Linked DNA regions of Homo sapiens: all the other regions are linked to region 2. Evidence: promoter capture Hi-C in 16 types of primary human blood cells and fetal thymus (Javierre and others, 2016). All regions are on one chromosome and are shown on one strand. The core of a region is centred on a gene start or on the middle of the fragment in contact, and the rest is flanking DNA. Distances in the headings are between cores, read along the strand shown.

Region 1 (6,151 bases), core at 1,429-3,928, 680 kb after region 2:
GCCTGCTATATTAACCAGCACCACGTGGGAAATTCAAGCACTGTATAGAACACAGTGGGTTACAGGTTAAGCCCATCATGATGAGCTGATCTTAGTCTGCTTAAAGACCTGGAATGGAAGAAGGGGACCAGGAGGAAAAGGTGAGAATGAGGCAACAAGACTATTCTGTGTGACACATTCAAATGCATGCCAATAAATAAGTGTTAAGATAATAAAAATTAAGTGCTAAGGGCACTAAAAAGCCAAAAGATCACCTTTTGCCAGGGGAATTTGAAGGGGCTTTGTACAGGAATCCGTACTCTGAGGACTGTAGAGGTGAGTATTTGAAGATGAAGAGCCTGGGAATTCCATATTAGGAAAGGAAGCTAACTAGGGCAAGAGGTTAAGGAGAAAAAGCTGAATTGCTAGGTAGGGGGTAGATTACAAAGATTTCCCAGGGTAAGGAGCCAAATGCCCATGGGAAATCCATGCAGTAAAATAATGATTCCTAGGGGAAGCTTCTAAGCATATTAAAGTTTTCAATATTTATTTATTTTGTGTTGAGAGGGTCAAGGAATTCATGCCAGACTGTTTCAGGAGAGGGAGTTAAGAAGGGACAACAACAGGGAGAGGGCTATTATTTTCCCTTCTTCCCAAACACCAGGGGCACACTACTGACACATTTTGATTTTAAGATAAAATTCTTATGGGCAGATAAGATTTTAAGTGCTTCAAAGTGTTTCAGTTGGAGGCGCTTGCTTAGGCATCCCAAGGGAAGAACTGAGATTACATTTCTCCCCCAAACTAGGGGTGTTTGATTCAGTAGCAGCGCAGGCTGTTATTCCCAAAGTACCACTAATGATGCAATCATCAGTCCATCCACACATCGCCTACCTATCATCCATTCCATAAGCCAACATTTTTGAATGCTCACCATGTGTCAGGTCCCATACAGTGTTTCTGAGTTGCAACAATGAGTAAAACTGTCCTTACTAGTGTATGTCAGTGAGTTGGGAATGGGGGAGAAAGATGAAACAAAAATAGTAACTTTAATTTTTATAGCTGAGAGATGAATATTTGAGGGCTCCTTATATGATTTCTTCAGCTTTTTGTATGTTTAATAATTTCCCTAATAAAGTTAGATAATAAAAAAAACCCTTTCGGCCGGGCGCGGTGGCTCACGCCTGTAATCCCAGCACTTTGGGAGGCCGAGGTGGGCGGATTGCGAGGTCAGGAGATCGAGACCATCCTAGCTAACACTGTGAAACCCCGTCTCTACTAAAAAAAAGAAATACAAAAAAAATTAGCCGGGCGTGGTGGCGGGCGCCTGTAGCCCCAGCTACGCGGGAGGCTGAGGCAGGAGAATGGCGTGAACCCAGGAGGCGGAGCTTGCAGTGAGCCGAGATCTCGCCACTGCACTCCAGCCTGGGCGACAGAGCGAGGCTCTGTCTCAAAAAACAACCAACCAACCAAACAAAGAAAACAACAACAACAAAAAACTGTCCTTTCTTTCAAACAAGGGAGCTACATTTGATAGATGCCTGTATCACAAGGGCAAGTCCAGCCATGAAATTAATCCCAGGATATTAGTGGAAGAGAAGACCCTGGGGCAAGATGGGGAAGGTGGTCAGGAAATGCCCTCCAGTGAAGTTAGGTAAATGCTCTCTAGAAGTAATTGTTCAGATTAAGGAAGCCAAAAGCTAAACACCTGACTCAGCCTCAAACTGGGTTTGGAGGTGCTCACAGGTCAGGATCAGGAGTGAGGAACTAGCCTCTACCACATTACCTTCACTTTATTTATCTCCTTCTTCCCCCTTTGCTTAAATGTCAACGAACATCAAAGTTGATGTTCAGATTCAACCAGCATTTCCAGAGCACCTACTATGTATCAAAGGCTTCCGGTTAGAATCTGCCTTTACCACCTTACAGAGAGGGAAGGCCGAGAATGCCTCAAGCCGTGGAGAACGTGAGTCCATCAGGCAAGGACAGGTTAGGAACCCAGTCCCTCCAAGTCCAAGTCAGGGAAAACAGGTCAGAAACTTAGAATCAGTCGTGGGTTCAAATTCCGACTCGTTTCGTGGCTTTCGGCAAGTGAGTGGTCCTCTCTGAGCTGGCTCAATTTCTCCATCCATAAAAAGGGTACAGTAAGACCGTGGAAGGTTGTAAGGACCAGAGATTCTGACTATCAAGATCCTGGCACGTAGCGAAGGCTCCATAAATGGCAGCCATCATTCTTGGCCAAGTGCGGGCGCATTCTCCCGGGCACGCCTCCCGCGGGGTCCCTCAGGACAGGCCGAGCCCGCCTCCGCGGCTCCGGTCTCGCAGAGCTCGCGCCAGGTGGCCCAGCATCTTGGTGCCCGCGCCCCGAAGCGAGGAGCGAGGGCGGGTTGGATGACCAAGGTCTGCCCTGGAGGATCACCCCCCCCGCCCCTTCCACGCTCCCGGCGCAGGTGAGGTTTTCGGCCCAGGCCACGGGGACCGCGACCTCTGGGGAGGTCGAGGCGGAGGGTGCAGCGGGGGGCTTGGAGCAGGGCTCCAGAGGGCGCTCCCTCCCTCGCCCAGGTTCACCCCAGGGCCAGCCTCGGCGCCGGGGCCCGCGGGCTGCGCGCTCTGCGGCTGCGAAAACCCGGAGAGGCGGATTGGAGCGCGCTCACCGCGCTCTCAGCCAACTCCTCCGCGGTCCGGCCGCCGAGCTGGGCATGCTCAGTGCGGACGCCGCGCCGCCGTCCGCCAACTCGGAAGCTCGCGCTCCCGGGCCGTGGGGGCGAGAACGCCGGCGGCGAGCCGGCGTCGCTCGCCGCCCCCAGACAGTGGCAAACTTCGCGGCGTTCCCGGAGCTCGTCCGGGCGAGGCAGATACCGCACAAATAAAATCAAATCCAAGTCCCCCATCCCAACCCGAATGATGGAGGCTGCGGCGGCCGGAGTGACCCCGCCGCCGCCAGCCCCAGCCCGCTAGCCGCGGACCAACAGGTAAAGTGTTGGGGGTTGGGGGCGGAAGGGAAGAGGAGCTGGGGCCGTGGGGAGGCGGCGGGCTGGAGGAGCCCGAGACGCCTGCGGGCTGGCTGCCCCCGTCGGCGCTCACAGCCATCGCTCCTCACCCCCTTCCCCAGCCCCTGGAGGGACTGTAAAGGGTTAAGTCGGCCCCACGCCACCGTGAGCACGGCCCCCTCCAGCCGCCGCGACCGCCAGCAGCGCGCCTCGGCGCCTGCCCGGAGCCGCCGAGGGGACCGTAGCTGCGGATGCGCCACTGGAACCTGGCGGGCGTCTAGGAGGCACCGGCCGCTTCCCACCGGCCGCATCCCTGCGTCTCGCGCCCCCTCCAGACCTGCCTCTGCCTGCACTGGCCCGGTCCGTGTCCAGGTGGCGGGGTCTGCGGGGCGCGTGGCGGCGGGGGAAGGGTCCCTGCCGGGGAAGAGAGGCGGGGGCGGTCCGCTCCACAGCTTCTTCCCGGGAGGGGAGGGCCACCCTCGCCTTGGGCGAGCACTTCAGCCACCAGCCTAGGCGCCAAGAAAAGTTTTTTTTTTTTTTTTTCCAGTGCCCCACCCCCACCCCCATCCTGCGCCCAGCTGGGGTGGGTTTGGGTCCATTGGTGAAAAAAGTCACACGTTCCCATCAGCTGCTCCTCCCCCTGGAGACAAGGTAGGGGGGAGCAGAGGAGGCAGGCGCCGCGGAGGACCCTGGCCGACCTCTAGTCCCTCCGCCGCCGCCACCGGAGCGGTGCGTCCCGGGGCTCGAGCGCAGCCGAGTACCCGCCGAAGGCTGTCCCCATCAGTGCGTGTCTGCTGCCGGGCAGCGGCAGCATCCAACCTGCTTTATTCCTCCTGCCTGCAGCGCCACAGCGAGCGAGCGAGCGAGGAGGGGGAGAGAGGGAGTCTGTCTGCAAAGTGCTGCTCCCTGGTGCTCAGAGGCGGCTGCTCCAGCTCCAACTCTCATTCATTTCGCCGGTTAACATGAGAGATCATGGCCGCCTTCGGGCTTCTCAGCTATGAGCAGAGACCGCTGAAGCGCCCCCGGCTCGGGCCGCCCGACGTCTACCCACAGGACCCCAAGCAGAAGGAGGTAAGGGCGCCGGCGGCCTCCCCGGCAACCGGGGCCGCGCTCTGCAGCACTGACCCGGGGCCAAGTTGGCCCAGCGGGCATCGCCGGCGCTGCGGTGGAAGAGGTCGGGGAGGGGGATTAGAGGCGGGGGCCAGGCTGGGGGTGCTGGGCGACCCCCCGGCGGCGGAGACCGAGCGGCTGTCAGTCCCCGCGCTCCACTGGGGCGCTCGCTTTCCATGTGCCGGTCGCTTTCCCGTTGCCGGGCCTTGCACGGCGCCGCCGGGCGCTTCTCGGGCTTCTTCCCTGCCGAAACCTTGCTCGCTCTCACCCGTTTCTGCCTGCTTTATTTTTCTTCTTGCCGCTTCGGTAAATCGTCGTAAACTTTTTGAAAAATGTTGGAATGCAGTGCATCCTACACTGAGGTCTTGCGTTTTGCTTTTGCTGGCCAGGGACGAAGGTGAGGGGGAAGCTTTTCAAATTTTCCAGTTTGGAATGGAAGTCGTTTTTATCGAAGTGATAAATATTTAGCTCTCTGAATATACCTCTGTAACCCTTCTGCCCTTTAAAAATTAAAATTAAGGAGAAACACTGATTTTCGTCTCTAGAGGCAATGGGCTTAATTGCTAGAGGCTGTTTTGTATACGTAAAAGCAGGCGAGTTACCTTGGGAGGGAATAGTTCCCAGGATTGCTTATTTCTTTGAATGAGATTAATTGGAGACACCTTGACTCTTGCACCAGCTACATTAGCTTCAATGGCTAGGGTAACCATGGCATTTTGTAGCTGTGTATCTGTTTGTCAGGAGTTAACAAGTAATTATGTAACAAGTCTCTAGTTATAATGATCACCTTTGGCTACACCATTTGCCCAGGGACTTGCCTTTTTTTTGTTTTTTTTTTGATCACCTGCTACCCAGCAGTGCTTTCTGAGTTTGCCAGCTGCAGTCCACCCATCTTCTGTTCAGCTAAACACGAACTGACCATATTTCAAAACTTACCTTTCTGAGAATCTAAAAACCCTCCATTAAAAGTTTGTGGGCCCACTGATAGCACAGAAAGGGCCTTGTAAACCAGGCAAGGAGGGGTCCTTAAGACTTTCCTTTTGATAAGTGTATCTTTCATTAGGAGAGTAAGTGCTTGTTCTGGCTAAACTGTCTTGCTTATAAAGTGTCTGAGAAGTAAGGAACAGCAACTCCTTTTAGAGGTTTAGCACACTAAATATGCTCTAGCATCAGTGGAGTCACGCAGATGAAAGCTGGGAAGGTTTTACAGGTGGTTTCCAGCACCAGCTTTACAGGATGGTAGAGGTTTGAGAAGATTTCCCAGATTTTTTTTCCTACCCGTTACCCCACCCTGCTACCCCAACTTAGAATGAAGTTAATGGTTAAGGACTGGAAATAATAGAGAAGCTGAGGATCAAGTGTACAGTTAATAGCTTAAAAATTATTGGGAGGAAATTCTTAAAGTTTTGATAGGGACAGGGATATTTTGTTGGTTGAACTTTATCATCTTGTAATTAATGTCTTACTCTGTCTTTCCAGAGGGCAGCATAATTGATGGCATGATGGCTTGGGGTGCTGTGTGGGCTTATTTAGCATTTGTTCTTCAGGCCAATGCTCATTTCACGACTGGGGCCTCTGATTCTGGAAAGAGTAATTTTGGATTTCAGGGTCTCACAACATTTTATGGAGTTCTAAAACTGGAAGCGACCTTAGGGACTACTTTCTATAACTTCCTTTTGACTAAGTGAAACAGGCCTGGGAAAGCTTGACTCGTTTAACCAAGGTGTATAGGTGAATAAGCAGAGGAGTTGTACCACCAAACCAGTATTTATGTCAAAACTAATACTGCTTTGAGGATGATTTATGCTAAATTATCTTCTGATGTTATCCCCTTTCCCCCAAGGCAGCCAATGTTTTAACTCTCCCAAGCAGACAGAGTTATGTGTGGCTGTAGCCAAATTTGGGTACAATATGGAACAGGTGCTTGGCTGTTCTTGGGTGGTTGGTGAGTAGAGTTTCCTAAGCTTTAGTTATTTATGTCCTACCTCCCTCAAGATTTCTACCCTACCCCTGTACCACCTGTACTTTTATTCTGAAGTTTTCTTTAAACTAATTTTTTAAGAAACTTTGTG
Region 2 (5,650 bases), core at 1,398-3,897:
AAATAATTCACCATCTGCTACTGATGAGGTTAGATAATAACTTAGGAAAATTTGGGGGTATGATGTTTACAGATGATGAAAAGATGTTGCTGTAGCAGTTTTTTATTTTCATCAGTAGAAACTGTCCTTAGTTTTTAACTGCTTTTATTCCCCTGCATTATGTTTTCTAAATGTATCTCCCATGCATCACTGCAATTTGAAATATTTGAAAAAAGTACCAGGTACAGAAGAAACAGTCAAGTTGGGGGCTCTAAGAGCAGTAATCGAGGATTCCCACAGCCTCTAGTATGGTCTCTGGGTACAGGCATGCAGCCTGGTAACTGCATTAAGACTCCTAGTCTTGAGGTTTGGGACTCCAAGGATCTCTTTATTCCAGTGAGTTAGGCTACCATCTTACTTACTAACCACTCTCTATACAGGGAGCATATGTACTTGCATATACATACTGCTTTCTATCATTTAAATTAGTTATTGAAAGGCTTTCAATTCTTTGTGGACCAACTTTTGAATTACATACTTTTTTGTTTAGATATAGCTATGCCACTTTTTGTCCTCTACGTTGATTTCCAACTTACTTGCAAAAATCAGAATTCTTATTTCTTTGTAGCAGTTTGATGTAATAAATTCTGTACATTTTTTAAGGGCAAATGTATAAAAGTAGCTAGGGCTTTTAAACTTTTGGAAAACAATATTTTCAAGAGAACTATTAAACACAAATCCTTAACCATCTAAATGACACTTTTAAAAGTTATAAATCATATGCTTTTCCTAAGATGTCTTTTAACATCTTTAGCCCCCTCCTTACCAGAAATTTAGTCCACTTCTGGATCTCTTCTAAATTATCTTTATCTTTCCTTTCATCTCATAATATATCATTTTAAGGAGAAATGGTCTTACAGATTACTTTAAGATTTTTCCTCTAAATGTACGATTTAAGAGTATCATAACGAGTAATCAAGAAGTTTATATGATAAGATAATGTAAAGGGATGAGCAGGCATATAATACTCATTTTTCCAAAAGCACCACCATCAACACTACCCATTATAACCACCTTAAACATCTGGTAAATCAATCCAAAATTAAATTAAGCTTTTATAAATTCATATTGGGTTTAACCATTTGATCTAACTTATTGATGGAAAACTGCCTCTAACAATTACTGAAATTACAGACTTAGAAATGAAACATTCCATTAGCTATCTCTGCCACAATAGCATAACGTTACATTTTGTTCCATTACTTTCGCCCAGCCCCTTAAGAAATAGGGATTTTATGTCGTCTTATTTCACATTCTGACTCCAGTCACTTGGGTTTGGAGGGCATGGTTTCCACTAAAGTTAAAAGACCTAGCTCTATAAATTACAACTAAAGACCTAAAAAATTCTCTGCAAATTTAATTCTCAAAACATCTTTTGGGATAAAAAGTATTTCTATTCTTCAAAGATTAGAGAACCGAGTTCAACGATTTACTGATTTAAGTTATCATTATGTGATTGCTAACGCTGCAGTAGATATGAAATCACGATTTCCATTAAGACTTAGATTTTACCTAAATGACGACTGCTTTAGTATGTCAAAGTTTAGGAGCCCATCCCCATTTTTTTAAACTGCTTAAAAGAATGGCCTTAGCATGCCAAAGTTTAAGAGCCCATCCCCATTTTTTTTTAACTGCTTAAAAGAATGGCCTTACCATTTTCTTTGGCCAGGAACTAACTACAAGATGATAAATTTGCCAGTACTTTCTTTTCATAGTTGTTCTTTGCATTGGAACAGGAAAGGGTGCTTTATCACTCGTTACGGTTGTTCATGGCCCAATCCAAATCATATAATACGCTGGCTGCTACTAACAGTTTTAGAATAAACAAAAAGAAGAACTATAATGCAGTAGGTTCTACATTTATAAAGCCCATGAGCTGATTTCGTGCCGAAAGTAAAACAGTCTCAAGAGTTTAAATGAATCCTGGAATCACAGCAAATTCAGGAAATTTAGGAATATGTTGGTAACCCTTAAGCTTTTTAAAAACTGACTACACCCTGGGCAAGTAACCACCCCCTGATGCCGTTGTGGGAGACAGAATTTCTGGCAGGAAGATAATTTTCTGACTCAATCTGGCTTGCCGTTCTTGTTTAATCATCCCCATTTCTCTGAACATTTTACTCCTCTGACTACAATGGTCAACATTTATTTTCAGAAGTTTTAAAGTGATTTAGTTCTTCCAGCCGCACCTCTTTTTATCCCATCTAAGTCTTCCCCAGCCCCCATTCCTATCGCCCTCGTTTCACTAAGATTTTGCTAAACATTAGACACAAGCACATGACCTCCAGTCTTCCACTGTCTCGGAACAAACCGACATAAAAACATCTGATTAGTTCCATTGTAAGCTTCCCTAGGCTTAGAATTTAAAATGGTCTTTAGCTCGTCAATGCTTAAAGAACCTACAACACAAAATTTAAATTTTAAAAATTTTAAATAAAGAAACCGCTCCCTTTTTTAACCTTTAGCCCCGCCCATTGCCCCCCACCCCAGGTTCCACGCGAAACTGCAGGAAACCGGAGGGGGCGGAGCGGTGACGTCACGACGCCGGTGCGTCACGGAACGGCGGCGGCTGCGGCGCTGGCGGTGGCTGCGGCAGCGGCGGCATTTTAGTCGGCAGCGGCGGCGGCAGCGGGGCTGCTGCTCCTCCCAGCATCCCTGGCGCGGCCATTTCAGCCCCATCTTGGCCCAGCGGAGGGAGCTGCAGCCGCCGCTTCAGCAGTTTGAATTTCAGTTTCTTCGGGGTTTAGGAATTGGGCGCACCGAGGAGGAGCCGGAGAAGCCACCACCGCTACCTCACACAGCCGGGGCGCCTCCGGTCCCGTGCCAGCGGTCTGCCGCCGCCGCCCCTCTCTGAGAGAAGCCGCGAGGGGAGGCCGAGACCGCCGTCGCCGCCCGCCCGCAGGGGTGGTTCCCCCTGTAAGGGGAGGACCGAGCCGGCTTTCCCCTCCCCCAGAGCGGGTTTCCGCCTGAGGCAGTCGACATGTCCCTGGGGCTGAGCTCCGGCTAGAGCCGGGGAGGGAGGGCCGCCTGCCCGCGCCACAGCCCCACCGCCCGCCCGCGGACCTTCAGCCAGCTCCGGCCCGCGGCTCCCGGCTGAATTAGGCATCTCCGACTCCGGACTCGCCGCTCCTTCCCTCAGTCAGAGAGCCCAGCGCTGACGCCGGCACCGGCCTGAGGAGCCCGAGCGGGGCAGCACCGCCCCTCACGCCGCCGCCACCGCCTCCTCCTCCTCCTCTTCGCCCTCCCACTCCCACCCCCAGCCAAGGCCTGCTGACCGCGCCGAGCGCCGAGCTGGACTGACCACGGCTGCCCGGAGACGAGAGAGGAAGCAGCCGGCCCGCCCCTGGGTTCGCGCTCTCGCCGCCTCTGAGGGAATTGAATTGAGGCGCCGCGGCTGCGAGAGCTAAAAAGGAAGGAGGAGCCGCCGCGGGACTGAGACGGGGGCAGAGCCGAAGAGACCGACACAGAGAAGGAAACGAGGAGGAGGATGTCTCACCGGGCGGCCAGCGCCTGGATCAGCCCGTGACTCTTAACAGCGGCGGGCCTCAGACCCCAGCGCAGACTCGGACTTTGTCTTTGGGGGCCCGTGCTCTGCCCTCCCCGGTTTCCGACAGGACCCAGAGGAGCCGGCGTGCCTCTCTGCCCTCCAGCCTTCTTCACCATGTCCAAGATGCCGGCCAAGAAGAAGAGCTGCTTCCAGATCACCAGTGTCACCACGGCCCAGGTGGCCACTAGCATCACCGAGGACACCGAGAGCTTGGACGACCCGGACGAGTCACGCACAGAGGACGTCTCCTCCGAGATTTTCGACGTCTCTCGGGCCACGGATTATGGCCCTGAGGAGGTCTGCGAGCGCAGCTCTTCCGAAGAGACGCTTAACAATGTTGGGGATGCGGAGACTCCCGGGACCGTCTCCCCAAACCTCCTCCTAGATGGGCAGCTGGCAGCGGCGGCTGCTGCTCCCGCCAACGGAGGAGGAGTCGTTTCGGCCCGGAGCGTGTCTGGGGCGCTCGCCAGTACCCTGGCGGCGGCTGCCACTTCGGCCCCCGCCCCCGGAGCACCCGGCGGCCCCCAGCTCGCGGGCTCATCCGCCGGGCCAGTGACTGCAGCCCCATCTCAGCCTCCCACCACATGTAGTTCCCGTTTTCGCGTGATCAAGCTGGACCACGGGAGCGGAGAGCCCTATAGACGCGGCCGATGGACGTGTATGGAATACTATGAGAGGGATTCAGACAGCAGCGTCCTGACTAGATCCGGGGATTGCATTAGACACAGCAGTACTTTTGACCAGACTGCGGAGCGGGACAGCGGCCTGGGCGCCACCGGAGGGTCGGTGGTGGTAGTAGTGGCCTCCATGCAGGGGGCGCACGGGCCCGAGTCGGGAACTGACAGCTCCTTGACTGCTGTGTCACAGCTACCCCCGTCGGAGAAAATGAGCCAGCCCACTCCGGCCCAGCCGCAGAGTTTTAGCGTTGGGCAGCCACAGCCGCCGCCGCCACCCGTAGGTGGGGCTGTGGCTCAAAGCTCGGCTCCGCTGCCGCCGTTCCCGGGAGCCGCGACCGGGCCGCAGCCAATGATGGCAGCCGCGCAGCCCAGCCAGCCCCAGGGAGCGGGGCCCGGGGGACAGACTCTGCCGCCGACGAATGTAACCCTGGCGCAGCCGGCTATGTCCCTGCCTCCGCAGCCGGGCCCTGCAGTGGGCGCCCCCGCGGCGCAGCAGCCCCAGCAGTTCGCGTATCCTCAGCCTCAGATACCGCCCGGACATTTGCTGCCCGTCCAGCCCTCCGGCCAGAGTGAGTACCTGCAGCAGCACGTGGCCGGCCTGCAGCCGCCAAGCCCCGCGCAGCCCTCGTCCACCGGCGCCGCAGCGAGCCCCGCCACGGCGGCCACCCTTCCCGTGGGCACCGGCCAGAATGCTTCCTCGGTGGGCGCGCAGCTCATGGGCGCGTCTTCCCAGCCCAGCGAAGCCATGGCCCCCCGGACGGGACCAGCGCAAGGCGGGCAGGTCGCGCCTTGTCAGCCGACTGGAGTGCCCCCGGCTACTGTGGGAGGCGTGGTGCAGCCGTGCCTCGGTCCTGCCGGGGCTGGGCAGCCCCAGTCCGTGCCTCCGCCGCAGATGGGTGGCAGTGGTCCGCTGTCAGCCGTACCTGGTGGCCCTCACGCCGTGGTGCCCGGAGTTCCAAACGTGCCTGCAGCCGTGCCCGCTCCAAGCGTGCCTAGTGTGTCTACCACTTCTGTTACTATGCCAAATGTACCCGCGCCTCTGGCCCAGTCGCAACAGCTGAGCAGCCATACGCCAGTCAGCAGGAGCAGCAGCATAATCCAGCATGTTGGGCTGCCCTTAGCGCCAGGCACACACAGCGCACCAACAAGTCTACCACAGTCTGACCTAAGCCAGTTTCAAACTCAGACCCAGCCTTTAGTCGGGCAAGTCGACGATACTAGAAGAAAATCAGAACCCCTACCTCAACCACCACTTTCTCTCATTGCTGAAAATAAGCCTGTTGTGAAGCCGCCTGTTGCAGATTCCCTGGCAAACCCCCTTCAGTTAACACCTATGAACAGTCTGGCCACCTCTGTATTCAGCATAGCTATTCCTGTTGATGGTGAT
Region 3 (6,114 bases), core at 2,951-5,450, 790 kb after region 2:
TCTCATTTATTATTCACTGCAGAGTCAGAATATTTTTATGGAATTGTAGATAGGATTTTCAAGCTTTAGAAAATAATTTGTGAAATGCAAAAATGAGTTTGGAATCAAACTTGTTTTCCTAGCTTTCAGGAACACCATTTCTTAATCATTGCAGCTAATGCAAATGGATTTACCAGCGGTTTTTATATGGGCTTATTTTACTAATGAAATAAAAAACACAAAGTCATCATGTATGCTTATCTAAATTTTTCCAATATTCTTTTTCCTAATAAGTCTTTTATTTAATGCTGTGTATTCTTTCTGCATCACCAGCAGTGGAGAGAATTTGATCAGAGTTGTGACTCTGAGAGCTGGAGTCAGCTTATACTTTATTGTTATTTATTTATTTACTTATTTATTTGAGACAGAGTCTCGCTCTTTTTGCCCAGGCCGGAGTGCAGTGGCGCAGTCTCAGCTCACTGCAACCTCTGCCTCCCAGGTTCAAATGATTCTCCTGCCTCAGCCTCCTAAGTCGCTGAGATTACAGGCGTGCACTATCACAGCAGGCTAAATTTTGTATTTTTAGTACAGAGGGGGTTTCATCATGTGGGCCAGGCTAATCTCTAACCCTTGACCTGAGATCTGCCCACCTCAGCCTCCCAAAGTGTGTGAGCCACCACGCCCGGCTGGAGTCACCTATACTTTAAACTGGGGCCCTACGTGGAGTCAGGCTCATCTTTCTGGACCTGGGTGGCACTGAGTAGCTCGGCCTGTGCTACATTCCTAACACGGCCTTGCTATGCGAAGTCAGTGTATCTGTTTTATAAAGACCATCTGACTGGTGCTGTTTTACCATTGATGTGCTATCGATGTGATTTTCTAGTTCCAAAACACTAGTTTCAGTAGTTAGTATAACTTAACAACTCCCTCTGAAATGTTACAGGGCCTCTGTGTTTCATGTTACTTCAAAATAGAAATGAGAAGTCACTAAATGTATTATTACTAACATCAGGAAGCCTTTATTATAACCTACAGGTAGAATATAATTACAAATAATACATTAAAGATTGTCTATATTTTTCAAGCCTTTTTATAAATAAAAGCTTTTGGTTATTGTGTTAGAAAAAAATTCGACATTAAAAATTGGAGGAATAATGAGTTGAAAGATTACCATCTTTTGAAGTGATAGATTAGAAATAAAATAGGCACAAGTTGTTATATGTAAGCTGCATTTTTTAAAAGTAATCTGAAAGGCTTTAAAATTATGTTGCTGGTGGGCTTTCTGGTAACTTACATGGAAATTATTTTTTATATTTTTATCAAGAAGTCAGTTCCAGGCATTTAAATGAATAACTCATGAATACCTTTGGGTCTATGTCATGGACCTCTTTTGGATTTCAAGGATATTGCAGGATTTTACATTCGTTCAATGAGACTCTTTAGTTTTTTGTACAAATATTTGGGTTAATGAGTAGCAGCAAGCCTAACAATAAAGCTTGACTTGCATTTAGAAACAGGATTTCTAAGTAAACCTGTCCATATTTGCTAGCTAACTGTATTTTTTCATACTGAGTTTTTTTTTGTTTTTTTTTTTTTTATCTTTCAAAGCTATAATTAACTTTATGGTCCAGTAAGGCCAGAATTGGTAGCACAAAAAATCCTGTCTTTTATGCATTATTTTCACATCTTAATTTTTCTTTCTGAGCCTTGGTCTCTTTAGGTGAGGCAAAAGTCTCAGTGACCTTTGAGCGGAATGCTTTTGAGAGGTGATAGTACAGGATAGGATCAAAGCACAGGTTCGACACAGCCAGGAGCAGTGTAGCCTCTTTGGCTTTGAAGAGTGAAATCCTGGTTGAGCAATCAGTTATGACTTCTGTCTGGCTGAGGGTATACGGGATTCGGACAATGTGGTAAGGAACAAAGCATATGATGTAGCCCGTGGTCACTAAAAGTATGTTGATGAGAGCCTTTTTCACATTTGGGTAATTTTCATTATCTTTGTTTCTGTAGAGCTGTCGAATTACAAGGCAATTGGATATTAAAATGATGGCTGAGAAATTTAAAAATATTGCTACACATATGAAATTTGTCAGCAAATGCCAATTTCTTCCAAATTCCTTTTTAAACTCCATACAACCCACATTTGACTTTTCCTTGATGTCTTTGATGGGAATCATCATATTTGGCACCATTATAAGAAGGACCATTAGCCACACAACGGTTGATATCATTTTGGCAAATCCGGGTTCTTGTATTCGGTAGATCTTGCAGCTGTGTGTCAGCTGAAGACAGCGGTCAATGCTGACAAATGCTAAGAAGATAATTGATAAATACATATTGATATAGATGAGGCAGGCTGTTACTTGGCAGTGGAATATCTTCAGCTTCCAAGGTGCCACACCCAAGTCAACAACAATTTTCACTGGTAATGCCAGAGTAAGCAGGAAATCGGCTGTAAGCAAATTAATTAAGTAGATGCTCACACACCTGTGATTCGTATTCTTCTGTATAAAAGCCCAGGTTGCAAAACAACTTCCAATAATTCCAACAAGGAAAACTAAATAAAAAAAATACGTGAATGGCTCCAGATCTTTATAAACTGGGCAGAAGAACGAACTGTTTGTCATCTTGAGGGAAAGTAAGGATGACTGCTTATTGAAAAGAAAAAATTTCTAAGACTCTGTAAAAGAAACAAGGAAAGGGAGGTTAGTAATTAAAATTAGCAACTATTTTCTTTAAAAGACATTGGTCTTCACAATACCGTTGTCTTTCCAGTTCTTAGAATTTTATTGGTGAACTTACCAGACCATATGGCCTGGTGAGAACATACTAGATTGTGAAGATGCCTGGGTTTTCCATTGTCTGATTTTGTGACTTTCAGGAAATCCCATGCAGGTTTGCTTTTGGTAGGGATATTTTCAACCTCAGGTTTTTCCATTCTGGTAGTTCTTGTTACCAGTTGGGTTGGAAGTTAGTTTGCAGAGGAGATAAGTGAACCGAGATTCTGAGAAGTAGAGAGAGGAAACTAGGGTTGTGGTTGAGCATGAAGAGCTTTCAATGAGGCCTTCTGGTTTTTTTCTTGTTTTAGTTTTTTGTTTTCCATAGATTCATGTGGCTCCTAAGGCTGGGAGAACCCAGGCTGACAGGGGAAGTAAGGAGTTGATGGAAAATCTCCAGCCTGGTCGCAAGAGTCTGTCTCAAAAACAAACAGAAAAAAACCAAAAAAACAAACAAAAAAACCCACAACTACCAGAACATGGATGTATGTTCATTGGTTACAAAATCCTTGGAGAAAGATTTATTTATATTAGTATCAAAACATCTGACTTCAACACTTGAGTCGCTTTTTTTTTCTTTCATTGTGGGTTTTGAAGCAGTTAAAAGCCCAGAAGCATAAGACATACCCTTAGAACTACTGTGATCACCACTGATAATGACAATGAAGTCTTGTCATGTCCCTCCCAAATCTGGAACATTGAGCGGGTTTGTAAGCTCAAGTTAAACTGATAGGGCTCCCTTTGACCTGGTCTATTCAAACTCACATGCTTAGAGCTAAGGGTACATTAGTAATCTTTCTGGTGCTGCCTGTTGGTGTGGGTCCCCCTTTTGCACATTAAACAGTGTTCTTTTGTTTTAAAGACCTGAAGATTATTTTTGTATTTTAGCAAGGAAACATTTTATATTATAATACAACCTTTTTAAAAGAAGCAAATATAAGTTATAGTGACCAACATTGAAGGCCAGATCAGCTACTCTGTAAGTGCCTTTTAATAAGAGAATAAAACTTCTGACATCTTTCTAAATTTTAATTTCCCCAATTAATTAATGATCCTTTGTGTGCATTTGTAATGAAACAATGTATGCAAACAGATGAATAAGGCAGATGTACACAAAGCTTTCTAAATTCAAGTGCTGCTTAAAGGCTACATGCCCTTTCTCTTTCCCTACCTGAGTTAGCACGTTAGAGTCCATGAATAATGTCATTCTTTACCAAACTCGATGAAAATAATTAAGCAGTTGGTTTGTATCTGGCACTATGCCAAATACTTTACATGTACTTATTTAACTTCTTATCATTTCCATAAGCTAGGTGTTGTTATTGTCCCTGCTTTACAGATGAGGAAATTGAGGCATAATGGGGTTACTTACCCAAGGTTGTGTAGCTGGTAAGATATAAAGCCAGGATTCCAGCTCAGTCAGTCTGATCTCAGAATCACATTCAAAACCACTCCAAAACACTGCCTCAGTAACAATAGTAAGATGATGATAGAAATGATAATGATTATTATTATATCTGCCAGTCTTTACTAAGGGCTTACTGTGTGGGCAGGAACTATGTTCTAAACAATTTTTATGTAATAAAGCTGAAATAAACTATTTTTAACTTTTTACCAAAATACTAAGAATATAAGTTTAGGCTTTTCGTATATTTTGCTGTTCTATGCATACAACCACGTGCACACACTCTCTCTCTCTCTCTCTCTCTCACACGCACATTTAAAAACAAAACCTAGGCCCATCCAATAAGTTTAAACCAACTTTGCTCTCAAAGCTTCCATAACCTAGTTTCTCTCTACCATCTCTACTTACATCCCAGATTAAGATTGGGATTGGTGGGGTCTCTATTATTCTGTGTACAGTTCCTTCCTGCCTTTATACTTTTGCATGTGATAGAAATTTTGGAGTCATAGGATTTTAAGGATGGATGGAAACTTTATCGATAGCCTGTAGTCTAATCCCCAAGTCAGTTGAGGAGATTGAGGGCTGGCACTGGTGTGTTCCTCAAGCTTTCACAGCATGTTCAGGCAGGACTAAGATCTGTTCTTATTGGTCATCTTCTAAGCGCTCTGCATTTATCCTTACTATTCCTGAATCCTGCTTATTCCAGAGCTTTAAGGAAGCTCCTCACATCTGAAAGCTACTCCAGGCTTTACCGATGTCCTTGGCGACCATGAATTTGGATAGTTACCATTTGTACCTTGGAATTTTGAACATACTTTTCTTCTTTATGTGAAAAACTAGTATTCGTGTGCATTGATATAGTGTCACATCTTTGCTTATTGTTACTTTCTAAGGCCCTAGGATTTTGGCTTACGCACTTCTATTTCAAATATTACATAATAATGGTAACATAATGTGTTTCTTTAAGTGCTCCATTGCTTGCACAACTATAAAATAAGTCTGTTGTATCAATGAGACGTATATGGTAAAGAGAAGAATTAGAGTAATTTATTTTGATTAATTTTCTCTGTAGCTAGAACTGACGATATATACCGTACATGAATAATTTATCTGAAATGAATAATCATTCAGTAATTCTCAAGAATCATGGAGCATCTCACATTTCTCACATTTGTGTTTGTGAACTTTTGTCTAAATTGCAGTGAGAAACAAATCTGTTTATTTAAAATTTTTGCTTATGTAAATTAGAGGTTAAAATATTGTATAATAACATCCTGTGTTCTGTGTCACAAGTTTGAGAACTAAGTGCTTAATAAATATTTTACCAGACAGTTACTTACCAGTGAAAATGTGAGATACTCAGAAGTAGTGCAGCAACAACAATACAAGATTTTAACTGTCTCTGTAGTTTGGATAGAGTGCCCATTGCTTAGAAAATAAATAAACTGGCTGGGCACAGTGGCTCACGCCTGTAATCCCAGCACTTTGGGAGGCTGAGGCGGGTGGATCACTTGAGGTCAAGAGTTCGAGACCAGCCTGGCCAACATGGTGAAATCCTGTCTCTACTAAAAATACAAAAATTAGCCAACGCGGTGGCGGGCACCTGTAATCCCAGCTACTCGGGAGGCTGAGGCAGGAGAATTGTTTGAACCCGGGATGTGGAGGTTGAAGTGAGCTGAGATCGCACCACTGCACTCCAGCCTGGGTGAAAAAGCGAGACTCCTCAAAAACAAAACAAAACAAAAACAAAATAAAAGCTTATTAGATTTTCTATGGGAATCACAGTGGAATCTTCTTGAAATCACCTATTGTAATGTTTGTAGAGGAAAGTCATCTTAAGGCCTGTTGTTCCCTGTTGTGAAGATCTACAACATGGCCTCTATCCACCCAGTTATAAGATTGAGTTACTGAATAGTTATGCTCGCTCAGGTATTCAGTCTGGTGTCAATTATC
Region 4 (5,612 bases), core at 2,801-5,300, 530 kb before region 2:
TTATCACTGAACTATAATATTAATGAGAGTTAAAATGTCATAAGAGCCTGATACTCTCTTCTGAGGAGTAGCTCTTCTCAACATGGCCTGCAGTAGTCCTAAAATAATGTGCAGGAAAGAACAATGTTGAAATGGAATGTAATATTGGCAGGATTGCTTGCTATAATTCTGGATCTTATTTCAATAATTGATTATTCGATACTGCAAAGTTCCCAGGAATTTTTATCCAATAGATAAAATTAATGATTTACATTCACAATCTGAATCCTCAGATCTATTGCTCCATTCTCATCTGCATTGTTTTGATCACTTGAGAAAGAGATTCTACTTCTTAATTTCTTCTTATTTCTTTGGACTCAAAAAGATGATCATAGCTAGGTTTTGAGAATTATCTCTATTCTCTATGTCTCTCATTAATTTATTTCATTTTCTTCCCTTATAGAATAAGTACTTTTTCTCCTCTATTAGACATCTGGGTGGGGAGAAAGGGTATTTTGTGTCCAGGCTGATGGTTAATTTACTGTTCCTTTGTGGCTATGCTGAAGGAAGAGAAAATCAGTTCTCCAGAGAACTTTTCCATTTTGCACTTGGAAAGGTTTAGAAGCAGAGTTAGAGTGTGTTTTCTTTAGGGAATCTTTAGAAGGTAGACATTAAAGTGAAGGTCTAGTTGTGTCACATTTCTAGAACTGCAAAAACCCAATTTATAACTAGAAGTTTGAAGAGGCCAGGCTCCAGAACCATCCAGTATCTGTATTATGCTATTTTCTTTTTCGTTTTGACTTTTCACCTTTTTGTGTTTTGAAAGATGGAAGACACAGTAAAAGTATCTATAATGTGTATATGTGCAATTTAAATAATAGTAAAATGAATTTCTGTGTACTCAATACTTAGTTTAAGAGAGACCTGTTACTTTCTAATGTATCACTTTAATCAGACTTCATTAAAGACCTTGTTATCAGGTAATTTTTTTTTTTTTTTTTTGAGACAGGGTCTTATACTGTTGCCTGGGCTGGAGTGCAGTGGCATGAACATGGCTCACTGCAGCCTTGACCTCCTGGGGCTCAGGCGATCCTTCCACCTCAGCCTCCCAAGTAGCTAGGACTATATGCACACTCCACCATGCCTGGCTAATTTGTTTTGTTTTGTTGAGAGGGGGTCTTGTTATGTTGCTCAGACTGGTCTCAAACTCCTGGGCTCAAGTGATCCTTTTACCTTGGCCTTCCAAAGTGCTGAGATTACAGATGTGAACCATTGCATCTGGCCTGGTAATTCTTTATCTTCAAGATTTTATTCCATCTACAGATTATATTAAATGAGCTGATCTTCATAATGAGAAAGCTCTATATTTGCACTAATTTTACATTGATTTCAAATGTTTTAAATAAAGTGATGTTAAGTATACCATAAAGTGACTGCTCATTAAAGTTACTCATTTTTTATCTTGTGTTTATAATAGCTTGCAAAGGGAAAGTCTCTTTGTAAGGCCAGAACAAATTCTAGCAATACTGTGTATTTTCTAATTCTTTCTTTTTGCTACATTATACTGTTTTCATTACCTCTAGCCTGATCCTAACCTAAAAAACCCATGGATATGTCTTTTCTAATTTCAGATTCTTGGGAGTAGAGCTTATGTTTTATGCAGTTCTGTGTACTGAGCTTTTAGTACAGTGCCTACAATACCAGAAACAATTAACAGGCAGTAATGGAGGAGTATACTCAGAGATCTGTCGCTGGGTGGCGCTGAACATCAAAATTCTTACTGTAATTGCTCCATCACAGTTACTTTTCAAGTGCAATGGAAGTTCCTGTGTTACTTGTGAAATTCCTAGTAAGCTGATTTTAAGTACAGAAAGTTATCCTCTTGTTGCACAGAAAGTTATTCTAAAGCCTTTATTTTCAGTGGTGGGTGGGCTGAAATGGGGCCTCTGCTATGTTAGGATGAGAAATCATTAAGATTTGATTGGAATATGAATCCTATCAGTGTCTAAAAAATATGAACTTAGATCAGATCCTTTATTTTAAATATCTACTTTAATATACATAGGTAACTAGAGAATATTTATGAATAGCTTTTTTAGATTTAAATTGCAATTCTGACAAATATTTAGGCAGCTTTTAACTAGTATAGTTTATTTTAACTGGTGTGGTTCATTACAAAGTAAAGATTTTTTTAAAGCAGTTTTAACTTAAGCATAACTTACAAGTTTTAACTTATAGCAAGCATAACTACACATAAAGGTTATTCAGATTTTCTTAATGTCACTGGGAAAAAAAGACGAATGTAATTTAACTTTTAAATTAATTTTAATTTTATGTTATTCATTTTATTATCTTTAGTACTAATCATGTTCCAGCTACAGTATTAAGCTTCATAATACTGGAAATAGCCACATTCAAAGACCTATAAGCTAATGACTTTGATTTTTTGATGGGATGTTGCAGAACATGATTGTTGCAACATGGAACAATCATGTTGAAAGGCATCAATCTTTTTTCTGATTGCCAACAACCTATGGAATATTAAAAACTATCTATATGAGTGAGTTTCAAACTTTTTTGACTGCAACCCACCCACAGTAAGAAGTTTATTTTTACTTGTTCCCTAGTTTGTATACAGCACACAGTCTGACAATAAAATTTCATGGAATAGTACTTACCTACACTACCTATACGATAATAACTTGGTATATGAAATTTCTTTTTATTAAAAAATAAAATTCACTTGGGTTCACTAAATGACTTTACTGCCTGGTAATGGATCATGACCTATAGTTTGAAAAATGCAGATTTAGGCCAATCTTTTCTGTGTAGCAGTGAAAACTGGCAGGGACACTAAGAAGTATGCTTTTTGCCTAAGCACTTCTAAGTTCAAAAATTGCTTTTTATTTGTAATTTTAGTAGTAAATTGTGTCTCCCAGTATTTAAAATTGCTTGTCCATATGCCATAGATTGACTTTAAAATGATGCCATTGGAAAAAATAACAAAAGATCTTTGTTTTTTTTTGAGATAGAGTCTTGCTCTGTTGCCCAGGCTGGAATACAGTGGCTTGCTCGCAGCTCACTGCAACCTCCACCTTCCAGGTTCAAATGATTCTCCTGCCCTAGCCTCCTGAGTAGCTGATATTACAGGCACCCACCACCAGGCCTGGCTAATTTTCATATTTTTAGTAGAGATGGGGTTTCACCACGTTGTCCAGGCTGGCCTCGAACCCCTGACCTCAAGTGATCCACCCACCTCGGCCTTCCAAAGTGTTGGGATTACAGGTGTGAGCTACTGCACCCGGCCAACATAAGATCTTTAATAATTTAAGTTCCAAGCGTTTTGGCTTCTGTTTTTTGGTATACTGTACTTGAAACAAATAAGTATGGCTTTTTGTATAACACAAGATTTTACTAGCCCTACCAAAAATGTTTTCTAATGAAATAAATAAATTCAGCTTACCTCTAAGCTTAACATGTACAGTGGTAATATGCCACTTAGCAAAAGGTCAACTTTCCCAGAACATAGCCTCAGAGAAGAGAAGGAAACATGCCTTTGTACCACCATTATGAATGTTGCTAAGCTTCAGCGTTAAAACCATGTACTTTTCCTGGCAGTTTTTCTCAGAATTCTTATGCACTTAATTTTTTTTAAAGAATAGAATTCTTATCGGGTTTAGTTCTTTTTTTTTCTCTGCCACAGAGAAGGATATACAGATGGAGGAAGTCCAGAATAACTATTAGTAGAGTACCAGTGGTAAGCACAGAGAGAGGAAGTAACATATGACACTTAACATTAAGGAGAAAAACTATAGTCTGTTGAAGCATGTTCATGATGATCTCGAGTAACTGGAAAAGGTCAAGTCACATTTGGTGAAAAGGTGGGGAAAATGCAACATATCACAAAAATTTTTATCCAAAATGACTAAAGTAAAATTTCCTGTGTGCTTTCGTGGAGGGTGGGTGGGGGAGGGGGTAGGAAGGAACTAACCAACAGATACGAGGAAATTTTATTTTTTTGACTTATATATTGCTGGATAGGGCTGGATAATCAGTTACCTTAGTTGCAGTTTACTTTAAACAACTATTTATATGAGAGATATTTTTCTAGGCTTGAGATATACATAAACAAAAAAGATTGTTCTTAAGGAACATTAAAGCCTGGTACTTAAAATGCTCTAAATGTTATTTTGTCAGATCTCTGTTTTTCAAGGTGAAAACAGGCTTAGTTTTCTAGTAATTAATGTTTATACCAAGAAGCATGAAAACAGATCTTTTGTTAATTTTTAAAGTAATACTCTGAAACATGAATTTTCACAAATTTTGCTTACTAGTATTGTGCTATGCACTTACCTTTACTAAGTGCAGGATGATTTTGTTTTTATTTTCAATTTGAGACCATGATGAAATTAGTCCATATTTATATCATGTTTTTAATGAGCCATGGTAGTTGAAAATTAATCTATTTAAAGTTAAGTATGTGAAGCTGGCCTGATTAAAATGTATCAGGTTGTCACAGTACTCAGCTGGATATTTAAAAAATAATGCCCTCAAGACAAAAGCTTGTGGTTCATGTTACAACAAAGATGAAAATACAGGTATACTTCTGAAGTTAATCCATTGTTAGTAACTACCAAGTGTTTTTTCTTAAACAGTTTTAAAATAAGCCCCATATTTTATGTCTTATACATTCTCTCTCTGTACAACAGCAGCATTCTCCTACATGTAGTTACCACACTTAAGAAATTTAATATTGATAAATATTATCTAATAATATAAACTACATGTTTAAATTTCCTAATTGTGTCCAAAATATCTCTTATAGTTGTTTTCTTTTTAACCATTTCAGGATCCAATCATGAATCCCAGACTAAACATATTCAGCTTAGTTGTCATGTCTCCTTTAATCTACAACAGCTCTTGATTCTTTTTTTCCTACTTTGTGCATTTCTGTGTTTCAGTTTAATAATTTCTATTCCTTTGTCTTCACATTTACTGATCCTTTATTCTACAATGTCTATAATCTTTTAAGCCCACCTAGTGAACTTTTCATATTGTATCTCTTTTATCTAGGAGTTTCACTTGGATCTTTAAAATGTGTGTGTATGTGTGTGTGTATGTATCATCCATTTCTCTGAGCCTTATGTTTATATTCTCCTTCAAATCCTTGAACGTAATTTATAATTTTATGTCTTTATATTACATGTAAATGTATTCTTATAATAATAAATTATAATTTATAGCTGTTTTAAAATCCTTGTCTGCTATTCATAATTCCGTATCCATGTAATTTCTGGGTCTGTTTCTGTTGAATGGTTTTTCTCATGGTTATGGGTCACATTTTCTTGCTTCTTGGCGTGTCTACCTTTTTTTTTTTCAACTTTCATTTTTTAAGTTCTGGGGTACATGTACAGGATGTGCAGGTTTGGTACATAGGTAAACGTGTGCCATGGTGGTTTGCTGCACGGATCAACCCATCACCCAAGAATTAAGCCCAGCATCCATTAGCTATTCTTCTGATGCTCTCTCTCCCCCGACCCTCCCTGAGAAGTACCAGTGTATGTTCTCCACCCTGTGTCCATGTGTTCTCATTGTTTAGCTCCCACTTATAAGTGAGAACACGTGGTGTTTGG

Evidence for each region. Contacts are between HindIII fragments. The CHiCAGO score rates a contact against its expected background, and 5 or more counts as called.
Region 1: the fragment with the promoter of MED12L here is called in contact with the fragment with the promoter of TSC22D2 in region 2 in 1 of 17 cell types (fetal thymus); the score reaches 12.7 in fetal thymus.
Region 3: a fragment that was not itself captured here is called in contact with the fragment with the promoter of TSC22D2 in region 2 in 2 of 17 cell types (activated CD4 T cells and naive CD4 T cells); the score reaches 6.0 in activated CD4 T cells.
Region 4: a contact is called between a fragment that was not itself captured here and the fragment with the promoter of TSC22D2 in region 2, in 1 of 17 cell types (megakaryocytes). The highest score is 5.6, in megakaryocytes.

What each region holds. Positions count from the first base shown.
Region 1 is chr3:151,082,986-151,089,136 of GRCh38, forward strand. It overlaps MED12L (mediator complex subunit 12L), which reads left to right and starts at 2,679. Exons shown (of 45, transcript NM_001393769.1): 1 at 2,679-2,951; 2 at 3,813-4,040. The coding sequence starts at 3,942. RefSeq lists silencers at 2,331-2,700, 3,137-3,431. The HindIII fragment of the contact is 3,991 bases long and covers 496-4,486 here.
Region 2 is chr3:150,405,651-150,411,300 of GRCh38, forward strand. It overlaps TSC22D2 (TSC22 domain family member 2), which reads left to right and starts at 2,648. Exons shown (of 3, transcript NM_001303264.2): 1 at 2,648-5,650. The coding sequence starts at 3,701. RefSeq lists silencers at 2,739-3,338, 4,009-4,178, 4,439-4,718 and enhancers at 3,709-3,758, 4,465-5,344. The HindIII fragment of the contact is 3,533 bases long and covers 2,383-5,650 here.
Region 3 is chr3:151,196,781-151,202,894 of GRCh38, forward strand. The region is part of intron 16 of MED12L (mediator complex subunit 12L); the gene reads left to right. GPR171 (G protein-coupled receptor 171) reads right to left here. Exons shown (of 3, transcript NM_013308.4): 2 at 4,129-4,217; 3 at 1,052-2,659. The coding sequence starts at 2,606. The coding sequence ends at 1,647. Among named protein-coding and RNA genes, the nearest start is that of GPR171, 3.4 kb to the right of the region's middle. The HindIII fragment of the contact is 657 bases long and covers 3,873-4,529 here.
Region 4 is chr3:149,878,345-149,883,956 of GRCh38, forward strand. The region is part of intron 4 of RNF13 (ring finger protein 13); the gene reads left to right. Among named protein-coding and RNA genes, the nearest start is that of RNF13, 68 kb to the left of the region's middle. The HindIII fragment of the contact is 978 bases long and covers 3,562-4,539 here.